Regions from separate parts of the Homo sapiens genome. Here all the other regions are linked to region 1. Evidence: promoter capture Hi-C in 16 types of primary human blood cells and fetal thymus (Javierre and others, 2016). All regions are on one chromosome and are shown on one strand. The core of a region is centred on a gene start or on the middle of the fragment in contact, and the rest is flanking DNA. Distances in the headings are between cores, read along the strand shown.

Region 1 (3,150 bases), core at 598-3,097:
TCTCAATGTTATGTGAGCAAAGATAGGAAGATAAGAAGCACGACCCCGTAACGAACTACAAACAGTTCAGAATTATAGTGGTTTGCCTATCAAAGTTTCACTAACAAGTGATGAAACTGAGGGCTACATACAGCCAGACAGAGAAAGACTTTCTATATTATAGTAACAGGGATTCCTTTTTTATATATAAGCTACAAATACCATGAGTTTCTGCCATTTATATCTTTCCCTCCTATGAAATGCTGTTTATTCACTCATTTAAAATCATTTTATGTACCAGGTAAAGTGTTAGGTTCTGGTTATATAACAATAACCTAAGCAGTTCTAATCCATATCATCACGGACCTAAGAGTCAGAATCCATGTGCTCTCTTAAAGTTTAACAGACGAAACCACCTGAGTCTAGTCAATAAGTACATTCTAGCACACCACTTATGATTTGAGAATACTCATTCACTTACTTATTGCTTCCGCAAAATTTAATAAGACTCTACTATGTACCAAGCACTATTTTCAGTGATAGAAATACAACAAAGCACAAAACAAAGCTCACTGACTTCATGATATTAACCTTTTGGTTGGAGGGCAGAGAAAACAAAAAACATAAATGATATAAATTCTGATAGTGATAAATGCTGTTAAAAAATTAAACAGGTAAGAGAACAGAATGTTAGCATGATAGGTATGCAAGTTTAGAGAAAAATGTTTCAGGTTTTGGGGAAACCAAGTAGATATATATATATGCACAACTGTAGTTTGAAAATGAGTATGTTCCCATTGATCAAAAACTCTTTTAGGTGGAGTAAGGATTCTGTGTCTTTTCATTCATTCAGAAGCATTTGCTTGCCTAATCTACTTTATACATGTCACAATAAGAAAGCAATCATTAGAAGGAAAATGGAAGGTTTTAATCAGTCTTAAAACCTAAATATAAATGAAGAAAAACATTACAGGAAAAATGCTCTATTTCTCCATCTCTCCATTCCCCTCCCTCTCTCTCTTACACACACACACACACACACACACACACGACAATCAGAAGAGCATCTGGCCATTCATTCATGGTACCCAGATTTGTGCTTCTTGGTCTTTAACAGGTTTCTCAGGATGTCCCCACATTCAAACACTCTGTGTGGCATCTATCCTGATCTTCAACTTAGAAAATATACTCATTATTCCTTGTAAGTAGAACTCTGCACAGCTGCATACAGAAGAGCGTCTCGGCAGGGAACAGTGCAGGTTCACAAAGGGGCCGATAAAACATATAATTTTAGCTTTGGTAATTGCCCTTGAAGATTACAATAAGAGGAGGAAAATAAGGGCCAAAGAAACAAAAGATTTGCCCGTGATTTGATAGCTGGTTTCGTCACATATTATGTTGCTTATCCCACAGAATGTGGGAATCCCAGAAAGCGCCCCGTTTAAATTTAGACCGTATTTTTAGCAGGGTCCCTTTAACAGAGATTGCGGGAACCTGGGAAGGAACTGAACTGGGCTAACCAAACCGGTCGAAATGAGCACAGGGATTAGATTAGAGCACAGAAATTCTGGCTAGCAGTCTGAGAAAGGGGGCCAAAGCCAGCCCAGAGAAAAGGGAGGTTGCCTGGGCCAAAGGCTTTCTGACAGGAGACACAATAGGGTCGTACCTCTGGGTCTTACCTTCACTGAGGTTTCTACCCGACAGGTTTAACTGGCCGCTCTTCCTCGCTGCCTTCAACAGCCCTTGGGGTACCGAGGTACCGCAGTCTCTTCCACCTGCTTTGAAACCAGCGCGGAGATCCTGCCCCGCTATCCGCTTCAGGCGCGACATGTTCAAAGTCCTAGGTCCAGAAGCTGCAGCCCCACCCGTGACGCTTAAAGGTGGCGCCGTTGGGATGCCCCGCTCCTTTCGTGAGCGCGCGCTCTGGGCGCTGGGCTCGCGGCCTCGCGCTGGGCCTTCACTCTCTGCGGCGCAGTCCAGATGTCGTCAGCACCAGCGCCTGGGCTGGAGGACAGAGAAGCCTTTTCCGTTGCCGGTGCCGGCCTAGCGTCCTGGAATTACTTCAATCAAGTAAGTGCGTTTAACGGGCTTAAGAGGGGCTTTCGGGTTTATTGTTTGCACTGTTACTGCGACTCCAACCTTCTCCTCTGTGCTTCCACCGTGGCGAGGGTGTGGGGAAAGAGAACCCTCTCTTCTCCCCTCTCCTAGTCTGAACGTGGGCCTTGACTAAAACTTGAGATCTGGGCGCGGTCGGCAGCGTTTCTGGACCCCAGCCTGTGTTTGTCGCTTGTGGTGGTGGCGCCAGACCTCTGGCGTACGGAGTAAAAGAAATTTTCTGTTCTTAAGGCTTGTACTCTGACACCATTCTCGTTGTATTGAGGGTATATAGCTTACCCAGCAAAGGAGGTAATGTGAAATGGAAGGACTGGCAACATAGAAGACAAAAACAAAAATCCTTAAAATTTAATAAATGTTCTGTGTATCAGACAGTTTAGGGAGACAAGTAGTGGTACATGCTTTAGTGAAGCTCAGACAGCTTGGATTTTTGAGCCCTAAAAAGCAAGTTCAAATCTCAGCTGCTTCTTTACTTTAGAAACTGTTAACTTTAGGCAGTTTACTCAACCGCTTTTAAAGCTCATTCCTTTTTTTCATTACTTTGGGGATAATTCCTACCGCATAAGGTTTTTGAAATAAGTGAAGATAAAAACTAGAATCTTGAGCTCTCGGTGAGTCCAGAATAATAGCAAATGAAAATTTTGTTCAATGTAAGTCGGTGTTTCCTAGGAAATTAAAATTTTCATCTGAAATGTACAACTTCTTGATTCAACAAGTAATTATTAAGATTAATCCTGCCTAGTATGTGTACTATCCTGGGTGCTAGACTTTTCTTTTGCCTGAAATGATTTTGTTTTAAAAGCATATGCCAGGGAATACCATTCTAACCCCCATCAAGTCTACTGAGGATTGGTAGAATAGTTGAAAGCTAGGATGAAGGCCCTTTGATCAATTCTTCATCACGCACTTTTACCTGAGTCCAGGTTATTGCTACCTGTAAAATTCGGTTTTTAACTCTACCCTTTTTGTTCTTATTTCTGTGGAGTCCTTTACACTAATATCGAACAAGAGAAAGTTACCAATAGTTGTTACCCTACTAAAAAAGCAAAGAGTGGA
Region 2 (3,174 bases), core at 122-2,621, 870 kb after region 1:
TCAACAAACAATATTCAAGTACACCAAAAGAGTTTTAGTTTACGCCTGGACTTCTCAAAATTATGAGCATGAAGTCAACAGAACTAATATGGCTGAATTTGCTCCGTTATTCACAATACTGATATCAAAGCAAACTATTAAAAACATTATGTAATAAGCAATGATTTAATGCCTAGAAAATTTCTGTGCTAGCCTTTAACATCTTGAATGAAAATACAGATCTCCCCTTTACTTAATTTCTATATGTAAGCTATCTCTTTAGATTAATTAAATATAAGTGTATATAAAAATTTAATTCAGTTTTTAAGTCTATTTTAGTCAAAAGCATGAGGCTAAAATAGGTTAAGGAAGTTTCATGCTAAGACTTTACTTTTCTAAAAATACTGGACAACAACTGTATGGTACTAAGCTGAAAAATTATTTTAAAAGTTGATTTGAATTAAATTTTTAAAATAAAAAGGAAAGTTTATTTCGTCAAGAAAAACAAAATTTATAAATAAAAAAGTTAGATACTGACATTTTGACTGGTGTTACCCTTGACCTGTACCCGTTTACCTGGACCTAGACCTTGAACTTGAGGGGGAGGATGAGCGTGATGAAGATCGTGAATGTGAAGATCGAGACTTTGAGCGACTTCGTCTATTAGATTTCTTTTTATTACTATCTTCTTCTTCACTGGCATCAAGATTATATTTTGAGAGATCAGCGTCATCTTCATCCTCATCCTAACAAAAATTCAATTATAATTAGACATTTAGATATTAGTGTTACCTACCAGGAAAGATAAAACAGTTAGGTGTACTGAGCACCTCCATATGCATATATCACAGGTATCTCAGCAAATTAATTCTGAATTCTAAAATTCACCTACTAAACTCATCTCAAATAGAGACTTGACAACTTTGTCTCAGGTATTGCACAGACATAAACCTGGAGGCCATACACACTTTTTCTGTCACACTTATGCATCACCCAAGAATTTTCAAGTCCACCTCCTTAAAAGTCCTTGAAATCACCATTTTTAGTCTTAGACACTCTGTTCCTTATTCTCTAGCATATTATAGTAACCTCTTAGCTGGTCTCCTCAAATCTGAAGATCCATTCTGCCTCTCTAGTATCTCAATATACTGACAGTCATCACTCTGAAACACAGGACAGATAAACACATCTCACTTTTTTCTTAAAAACTTCAAAACTGGCTTATTATTTCTTTAGTTGCATTCCAAGACCTCTTATGATCAGGCTCTAAGGTACCCTTAACATGGCATAAAACTTACACTCTGGCCTGACAGAACAAGTATCACCAGACCTGAAATGTGTGCTGTCCCCCTCATCTCATTCTCCCCTCTGCTCTAACTATACTGGCCTATGTATGGTATTTTTGAAGGCTGCTGGCTTATCTCCTATTTAGGGAACCCGTATTTGCTGTTCTCTGCCTAAATGTGCTCTCACCTCGGCTCTTATTGCTGGCTCCTTCCTATCATTCAAGTTTCAGCTCAAACTTCACCTCCTTAGACATTATCCATCGGCAAAACCAAAGTTGCTTTTAAACTGTTATCACATCATGTGTCTTCATAACGTTACTGCTATCAAAATTACCTATTTATATATTTCCTCCTCTAGAACTGTGTAAGAGAAAACTGGTTCTGTTTCGGTCACCACTGTATCTCCAGAACAGTAGTGTTCCAAGTACAAATAGTACTTGGCAGAGTGGAAATCCAAAACCTTTGTGAGAACAAATGAAAACACAGAATATATTTTCACCAAGTGTCTGAGGCTGTCAAAAGCATTCATGTTATGGTATAACTCCAATAAGACAAAAGGGAAATAGGACAAGAAAATTGTTCACCTCATCTAACTTATATTTAGAAAGATCTTCATCCTCATCCTCTTCTTCTCCCTCTGATTCTTTATCTTCAACTTCCTTTAATATAGATGCAGGACCAACTGCTTTCCCTCTGTATTTTTTCTTTTTACGTCCAAACTAGAGAAAAACAATTTCAAAATGCTTGTCAGCTGATAATGCATTAAACTTAATACATTTTCTAAAAAATTATTTTAGATATTTATGATTTCCTGAAAATGATCAGTTGCTGAAGACTCAAATTGCACTTAAAAAAAAGTTTGTTTTCCTTTGCATTTAAGAATTTTTTCTGTTTTTCTAATTTATATTCAACCTGAACACCAAAATATAGCTTACCTCATCATATTCACCATCAGATTCTTCTCTTTCTATATATTCAACATTTTCTCTTTCATTAAAACCACCACCATATCCTTAAAAAAGAGGGCACAAATTGTTACCCTATGACAATTGATTTAAATAATAAACACATCATGCCCAAATCTCCAGACAACAAAAAACATCTAATCAACAATGGCTGCCTACCCATCTAATAAATTACTAGTCTTTAGAAAGCATATTAGAAATCACCACAGAAAATACAGAGAACTTAGTTGTAACGTCATATGGCTGTACTTCTAGCTCTTTTCAATTCCAAATTGCCCTACATGACTTATTTAATTCATAGAAAGTATTGGTGGAAAACATCTCAAACTTCTGCTATAACCAAGTTTTAAAGGACTTTCCTCTACAGTTAATCGTAATTCTTCTGGGAAGGGTGGGCTCAGTAACAACCAAGCATTAAATTCCACTGTTTACCAACTGCAAATAGTCTGAAATCTTCTGATATTCTGAAATTTTGCTACTTTAAAATGTAGCAGGCCTTATTAGAGCTTGGAAAATTCCTAATTACACAGACAAACACAATAACACAATAAAGGCCATCCTTTGGCCCTGGTTTAATTGGTTTTAACACATAGGTAAAAGTCACACAGGTTCTCTGAAGTAGCCAGTAAATTTTGAAATTAAATGATTCTATTAAAAAGTAGTTGAGATTAGCAAACCACTATTCTCTCATGTCACAACCAATGTATACAATTCAATTGGCAGGTCTCTGACATAAGCTTAAAGGAGAGACTGGAATTAAAGAAAATGAGCTAGTTTTAGGAAAAGTGAGTTGACATATTTTGAAAAAGTCTCCCATTGAAAATTAAAGAGGTATGTGTTGATCAAGAGTAATACAATCTAACTGGTCACATACTCCAGAGCAGTATCAGTACAATAAGGCCGGTGATTTCCAGACTTAGGGACTTCATTCATCAGCAAAATAT
Region 3 (3,154 bases), core at 642-3,141, 900 kb after region 1:
TTAAACTTGTTTATATTGCTTCTTCCAATCAGGTTTCTTTGACAAATGTTTTGCCTTAAATTTGTGCTTTCCAGGATTATTACTATGCCTTGATAGCTTACGGGATGGCACTAACAAGAAACAGAAGAGATAGTATCTTATATTTCTAGACCACTTTAGAATTTACAAAGCATTTCTACATCTATTATTTCCCATTACTGTCTCCACCACCCTGTAAAAGAGGTGTTTTTGCTTTCATTTTAAAGATCAAGAAATGTGGGCTCAAAGACATATGTAGTATCACAGTCACTGGTTTGTGTAAGATCAAATCTGATCTTCTAATCCTAGGTTCAGCGCTATTAGCTAGTGCCTCCATCCTGCTTATCTGTATCTGGTGTAGATTTTCCTGTTATCCCTTTGGTATCTGGTGTAGAATTTCCTGTTATCCCTCAAATGTTAATTAGGAGCTATATTCTTGCCACGTAAGAATTATATGTCTATCGAGTTCATATACCTTAGCATTAGACAACAACTGAAATTCTCAAAATTATCAGGTTAATGTATCACCTAGAACTAGTCAATTTTCTGGAATTAATTTTATGTCATAAGGCTTACTTTTTATCTTTTCATGTGCTTTAATAATACTTGAACCAATATTACCTCCTATGTGAACAGAGTTCAGGTGAATAGCCAGTGAGCTTCTATTACAGATCTATTTTAGAATTGACTTCTTTGTGGCACCAATAAAATCTTCAACTACAGCATGATTATGTTGTCAAAAAGTTGATTTTCATCATAGTCTGAATATTGATTCATTGAATATGTAACTTTTTTCTTGAGAGAAATAAAATTATTTCCCTGGATACGTTACATAGATCATCAGTATGTATGAAGTTTTGAAGAGGTTGGTCATTGGTAAATATACTAAAGAAAATAATCCGAAACAAACCATACAGATAAAAGACAATTCTTACATTAGTTTAACATTAAATGTCCCTTAGTACATAGATGAAAGACTAAAATGCAGGACAATATAAGCATAATATGTGTTGATTTATGAGCAGCATGCAGCTCAATAATCCATTGGTGTCTACTGACTAAGATCAGTGTAAGGGCAAACACGGCTCTCTTTTGAGTGCTGTTCTAGGCTCTTCTGGTGAAAAGATATTTTTAGGCAACACTGTGCAATTCAGAGAACGTGAAAGGTAATGAGGTATTCCTCTCAGCGCAATGTACCATGTCCATTCTATCATTGAAAGAGTAATGACATGAATCAGAAAAGCCAAACACATATACATTTAAATCCCTGAAAAATGATGTGACTATGAAGTTACTGAATTACTTGGATGTTTTGTCAAAGTTTACTTCCTGGCTAAATAGTGGGCCTCTCCATATTCAACCATGTCACATACTTATTTAAATATGTCACATATTTAATTAAACTTTCTTGCTTAAATGGGAGTTGGAGAATGATCTGGCCAACATGAACCAAGTTGAGAAGGGGTTATTAATTAGGTTCCAGGATGGTGAAGAGTATGCAGTTCTTACCCAGGACCATGGGAATGCAGTGAGCCAAAGGGATTGGCAAATCTGTCAGAAGAAAGAAAGAAGAAATCTGTCAGAGGAAAGAAAGAACATTAGATTTTCTGGGCCAAAAATTAAGCCAAAAAACTTTTAGCAAAGAAATAAGATATGAAAAGAGCAAAAGCCTTTCGGGAGTGAATAGGTGGTTCTTTGACAATGTCCTAATTTGACAATGGTAGAGGATCAGATAACTGAGGTTTTTCTTTAGGGAACAGTGGGCATATGAGTGAAAGGAGTTGGTTGGCTAGAAGGGCCAAGAGCTGAGCAGATTACGATTCATTATTCTTTCCTACGATAAACATTACCTAGTATTCTATCATTAGACACAATTAAAATGTGTAAAAGCAAAAAAGTCACCATCATAATCAATTATTTAGTTTTTCTAAAGGATTTCAAACAATGTTTGATTGATTTTTAAATGCTGAATTGGATGATTTTGGGATTCAATTAGTAATACAGAGGAACAGACTCTCAATGGGAGACAAATTTCAAGGTTATCCAATGGCACTTGAGGCAGGAATTCTTTCTATATTGTTCAAGTTGAGCGAAAGTCTGGTATTAAGTTCTGTGTTGACAGTACACATGCTGCTTTATGAGGCACTCCATTTCATTGTGTATAGCCTTATGTCTGTAATTTTTATTTTTGGCTTCCTAGAAAACATTCCTAATTTCTACCAGCATTTTGGTTTATGTTTGTAGAAAAATGTCTTCTTAATCTGATACAGTCTAGTGAAACTATTAATGATGGCCCTTACCTCACCCTAAACAAAGGTACCAACCTGACCCCGGGTAGTCCTGTAGTCAGTCCTTTTCTCAAATTTGAATCTTGAACACGGTGAAACAAACGTTCAGCATTGTTTCATTTCCAGCAGTGGTTGGTGCCCTGACCAGACTATTTTCCCCCTGAGCCTCTGACCGTCTTTCCTGTTTTCTCATTCTCTGAATGAATCTGCCCTAGTTTTTGTTGTTTCCAAACTGATTCTCCAGCTTCCTGTCAATACTGTGCATGCCAGTCAACTGGGGAGACTGTTAGAAATGAAGATTCTTAGACCTCATGTTGCTTAAAGTATTTAGCAGTAGTAGTATGAGGTGGGGTACAGGAAGTTAAATTTACAACACACTCCGAGTAACACTGATGCAGTCAAAAATATGAGCTGACTTTTGGGAACACTGTACAATGTACATTTGTACTTTAATAGAACATTTCTGAAAGTGGAAAAGTCTTCCTGACTGACTCACTAACTGGATAAATTCCAGTTCTTTCATTCATTCAATAATTCAACAAACAGACATTGAGCATCTACCCTGTGACAGGCATCAACGATGAGCCTTGGAGTAAATAATATCATTAAGATTATTTGAGGCTGGGCGTACCAGCTTGCTTTTGGCGGGGCACTGAGTCATTCAAAAGAGCAAGGAATACATATCTAGATATCGATGTCTTATATTCAGTAAATATCACTAATAATCTTTAAAAGAAATGGACAAGCATTTATCTCTATATTTCCATATCCCTCATATTCCTCAAAAGTGTCATAATAAAGAGATTTCTAATTACACTCTAGGCATGTTCCTTTGTGTATGTAAAAAT
Region 4 (3,059 bases), core at 223-2,722, 880 kb after region 1:
TTAATATCTACAGGCAACCCTGGACAGAAGATAGTGTTGCTAAAGTGTTCAAGTTTCTATCTCTCTTCCATTCAAGAAATTCCCACCTGGAGCCTCTTAGCCCTGTCTTCAAATTTCCAGACTCTAGTTGCTCTGGCTTGAGTCAGGTGTGCACCTCTATCCAATCAGCTATGTCAGTTTTTCAGGATCATGGTGTAATGTATAGACCTGACTGCTAGGAGGCACTCCTGTGGGACAAGGGGAGTAAAGGGTAGTGCCCACAGAAAAGAAAAAGCAGTTGGTTCTTGTATTGGTTTTCTAGTGCCAAGTAACAAATTACCACAACCTTAGAAGCTTAAAGTAACATGTATTTGTTATCTCTCAGTTTCTGTGGATGAGAAGTCTGGGCATAGCTTAATTGGATTATCTGCTTAGGGTTTCACTAGGCAGCAATCAAGGTGCCAAGTGGAGCTGCAATTTCATCTGAAGCTTTTAGGCATATTCAGGTTGTTAGTGGAATTTAGTTCCCTGAAACTTTACATCAGAGGTCCCTATTTTCTTGGGAGATGTTGGCCAGGGGGTTCTCTCAGCTTCTAGAGACTGCCCTCAGGTCCTAATTACATGGCCATCTCAAAACGGAGTTTACTTCTCCAAAGCCAGCAGGAGAATTTCTCTCCAGTTGGCTGCTGCTGCTGCCACTACCATTACTACTATATACTACTACTATAACTATTACTGCTATAAAGTCTTATATAATATAATGTAATCAGAGGAGAAATGGTTCCGTCCCCTTTGCCATATAACATAAACTAATCAAAGGAGTGCCATCTCATTGTATTCACAGGTCCTGCCCACACTCACAGAGAGGGTATAATACAGGGCATGTACACCAGGACACAGAAATCTTGGGAGCCATCTTGAAATTCTGCCAACCATGGCTTCTGAATAGGCAAATACTCCAAAGGCCACTACAGTTGTTGCTTTCTCAAATCATTGAGACATCCTTCTTAAACTGATGGTCTATATTTTTCTCTTTAACTTTATTTTAAGAATGGCATAGTTTATGGGATGTGTGTGAGTATTCATGGACACTCAAGTCTCACATACCCCAAATATACATCTCTAAGAATATTTTGTCACACAGATTTCTTTCAAATTTAAAATAAATGTGCTGAAAGAAATGACAAGACGTTATTAAACATTGTTTACTTAGTACGTGTTATGATTTGACATTCTTAGAAATTCACTACATTAAAAAATGTGAATACATGTGCGCACACACACACACACACACACACAACAACAACTCTCCTACAACTTAAATGCTCTTTTCATTCTGTAGAAACCATTAATAGGGAATTTTTGCCAGTTGGTGTTTCAGAGTCCTTTATAAATTAATTATAGTATTTACCAGCCATGTGGGAGTGAGAAGTCTAATTAGGTCAAGGAGGCTGGCCCTGCTGGAGACTGAGGGCAAAAGCATATATACGGTGTCAGTCACAAATCTACTGCAGTTCTTTCTTGAGCACGTATGTTTAAATAAAAAACTGGAACAATTCAAATGCTACATACAAAGTTATGAGAAAAATCATATCACAATTAGAATAAAAGCAGGTTGAAGTTTGCCATCTATCTATAGCAAAAATAAAATGTTTTTACTGACGAAGGATTTCACACACCTGTGCCATGCCACAGCAGGTATGGCATGTTCAATTCTGACAACACACTCATTTATTTATTTGTCCATTCATTCATTGACTTACCCACTCAACAGGTACAGGACTAGATATTGCAGCTATAAAGAAGATTATGTCACAGTCTCTTTGTTTAAGGAGCGCACAGAGTGCCGATGCATATGGATGTGTAAATAGTGAGAAAACTGTGTTGTAAGTATAGTATAGGTATAATCAGAGGATATTATGGGTGTTCCCAGGAAGAATGACTCCCTCAGTTCATGGGTGGGGAAGGGAAATGCATTAAGGATACTTCATCACAAGTAACAGAAACCAAAGCTGGTTAAACTTTATCCTTAAAGGACTGGGATAAGAGCGAGGCAAATAACACAAACAGGGCATGACATTTAAGGAGGCAGTCTCAGGTGCTGAGCCTGGAGTTATCACTTGAGAATGAGCGCCTCCTTAAATGTTGAACCCTAGGCATCTGGCTCACCCTAGTCCCCATCCTGTTATTCCTTCAGTCTTACCTTCTTCAAAAACTCTCATCCCCCACAGTGAAAAACAGTTGAAAAACTGTTTACATCCTAGTGTAAATAACTAAAAACAGTTTAAAGTGTCCTTTTTTTTTTTTTTTTTTGAGACGGAGTCTGGCTGGAGTGCAATGGCACGATCTCGGCTCACTGCAACCTCCACCTCTCCACCTCCTGGGGTCAAGCGATTCTTCTGCTTCAGCCTCCCGAGTAACTGGGGTTATAGGCATGCACCGCTACTCCCAGCTAATTTTTGTATTTTTAGTAGAGATGGGGTTTCACCACGTTGGCCAAGCTTGTCTGGAACTCCTGATCTCAAGCGATGCACTCATCTTGGCCTCCCAAAGTGCTAGGATTACAGGCGTGAGCCACCGCACCCTGCCTAAAGTTTACATTCTTATAAAGGGATTTTCAGTTAAATCAAGTATTAAACCATGAAAGAAAAACTCAAATGTTTACAGGGTTCAGGCAGTAACATAAATCAATGATGCAGGCCTGTGTAAAACACTAGGGAATGAGGGAAAATGTGATGAGCTGTTCAAAGCCTTTCAAATTCAACCTAAACATAAATGTTGTCTTGGCCAAATAAAAAGTTCTTTTGGATTATCAGGTCAGTAGGATAGTTGTTTGTGTACCCTGCCTGTTAAAGAAATTCATTTGCTATGTTAGAACTTTAGATTTCTGTAAGAAAATGGTTATGAGGACATAAGCCTAGATGGAAAACCCTTGGGATATTCTTTCTCCTCTTAAGGGTTCATTGTGAGGCCCTACTCAGCATTCTTTTGCATTTCTTTCCTGCGGGCTCCAAGATTTGGCATAGTTGTTTCCATTCTTTGCTGTCACTATTTGTTCTTTTGCTGTGATCTGTGAGTCA

Evidence for each region. Contacts are between HindIII fragments. The CHiCAGO score rates a contact against its expected background, and 5 or more counts as called.
Region 2: a fragment that was not itself captured here is called in contact with the fragment with the promoter of LRRC40 in region 1 in 14 of 17 cell types (total CD8 T cells, naive CD8 T cells, activated CD4 T cells and 11 more); the score reaches 33.6 in total CD8 T cells.
Region 3: a contact is called between a fragment that was not itself captured here and the fragment with the promoter of LRRC40 in region 1, in 1 of 17 cell types (total CD4 T cells). The highest score is 5.0, in total CD4 T cells.
Region 4: a contact is called between a fragment that was not itself captured here and the fragment with the promoter of LRRC40 in region 1, in 10 of 17 cell types (total CD8 T cells, naive CD8 T cells, naive B cells and 7 more). The highest score is 23.1, in total CD8 T cells.

Annotation. Positions count from the first base shown.
Region 1 is chr1:70,203,732-70,206,881 of GRCh38, forward strand. It overlaps LRRC40 (leucine rich repeat containing 40), which reads right to left and starts at 1,848. Exons shown (of 15, transcript NM_017768.5): 1 at 1,659-1,848. The coding sequence starts at 1,809. It also overlaps a transcript of SRSF11 not described here. RefSeq lists enhancers at 1,442-1,501, 1,762-2,071. The HindIII fragment of the contact is 8,465 bases long and covers 1-3,150 here.
Region 2 is chr1:71,070,272-71,073,445 of GRCh38, forward strand. It overlaps ZRANB2 (zinc finger RANBP2-type containing 2), which reads right to left. Exons shown (of 10, transcript NM_203350.3): 5 at 2,201-2,277; 6 at 1,850-1,984; 7 at 556-725. Among named protein-coding and RNA genes, the nearest start is that of MIR186, 4.1 kb to the left of the region's middle. The HindIII fragment of the contact is 3,187 bases long and covers 1-2,965 here.
Region 3 is chr1:71,104,330-71,107,483 of GRCh38, forward strand. All of the region lies in intron 2 of ZRANB2-DT (ZRANB2 divergent transcript), which reads left to right. Among named protein-coding and RNA genes, the nearest start is that of ZRANB2-DT, 25 kb to the left of the region's middle. The HindIII fragment of the contact is 3,922 bases long and covers 1-3,154 here.
Region 4 is chr1:71,087,066-71,090,124 of GRCh38, forward strand. The region is part of intron 1 of ZRANB2-DT (ZRANB2 divergent transcript); the gene reads left to right. LOC105378795 (a long non-coding RNA gene) reads right to left here and starts at 1,891. Exons shown (of 3, transcript XR_001737669.2): 1 at 1,743-1,891; 2 at 1-19. The HindIII fragment of the contact is 2,012 bases long and covers 467-2,478 here.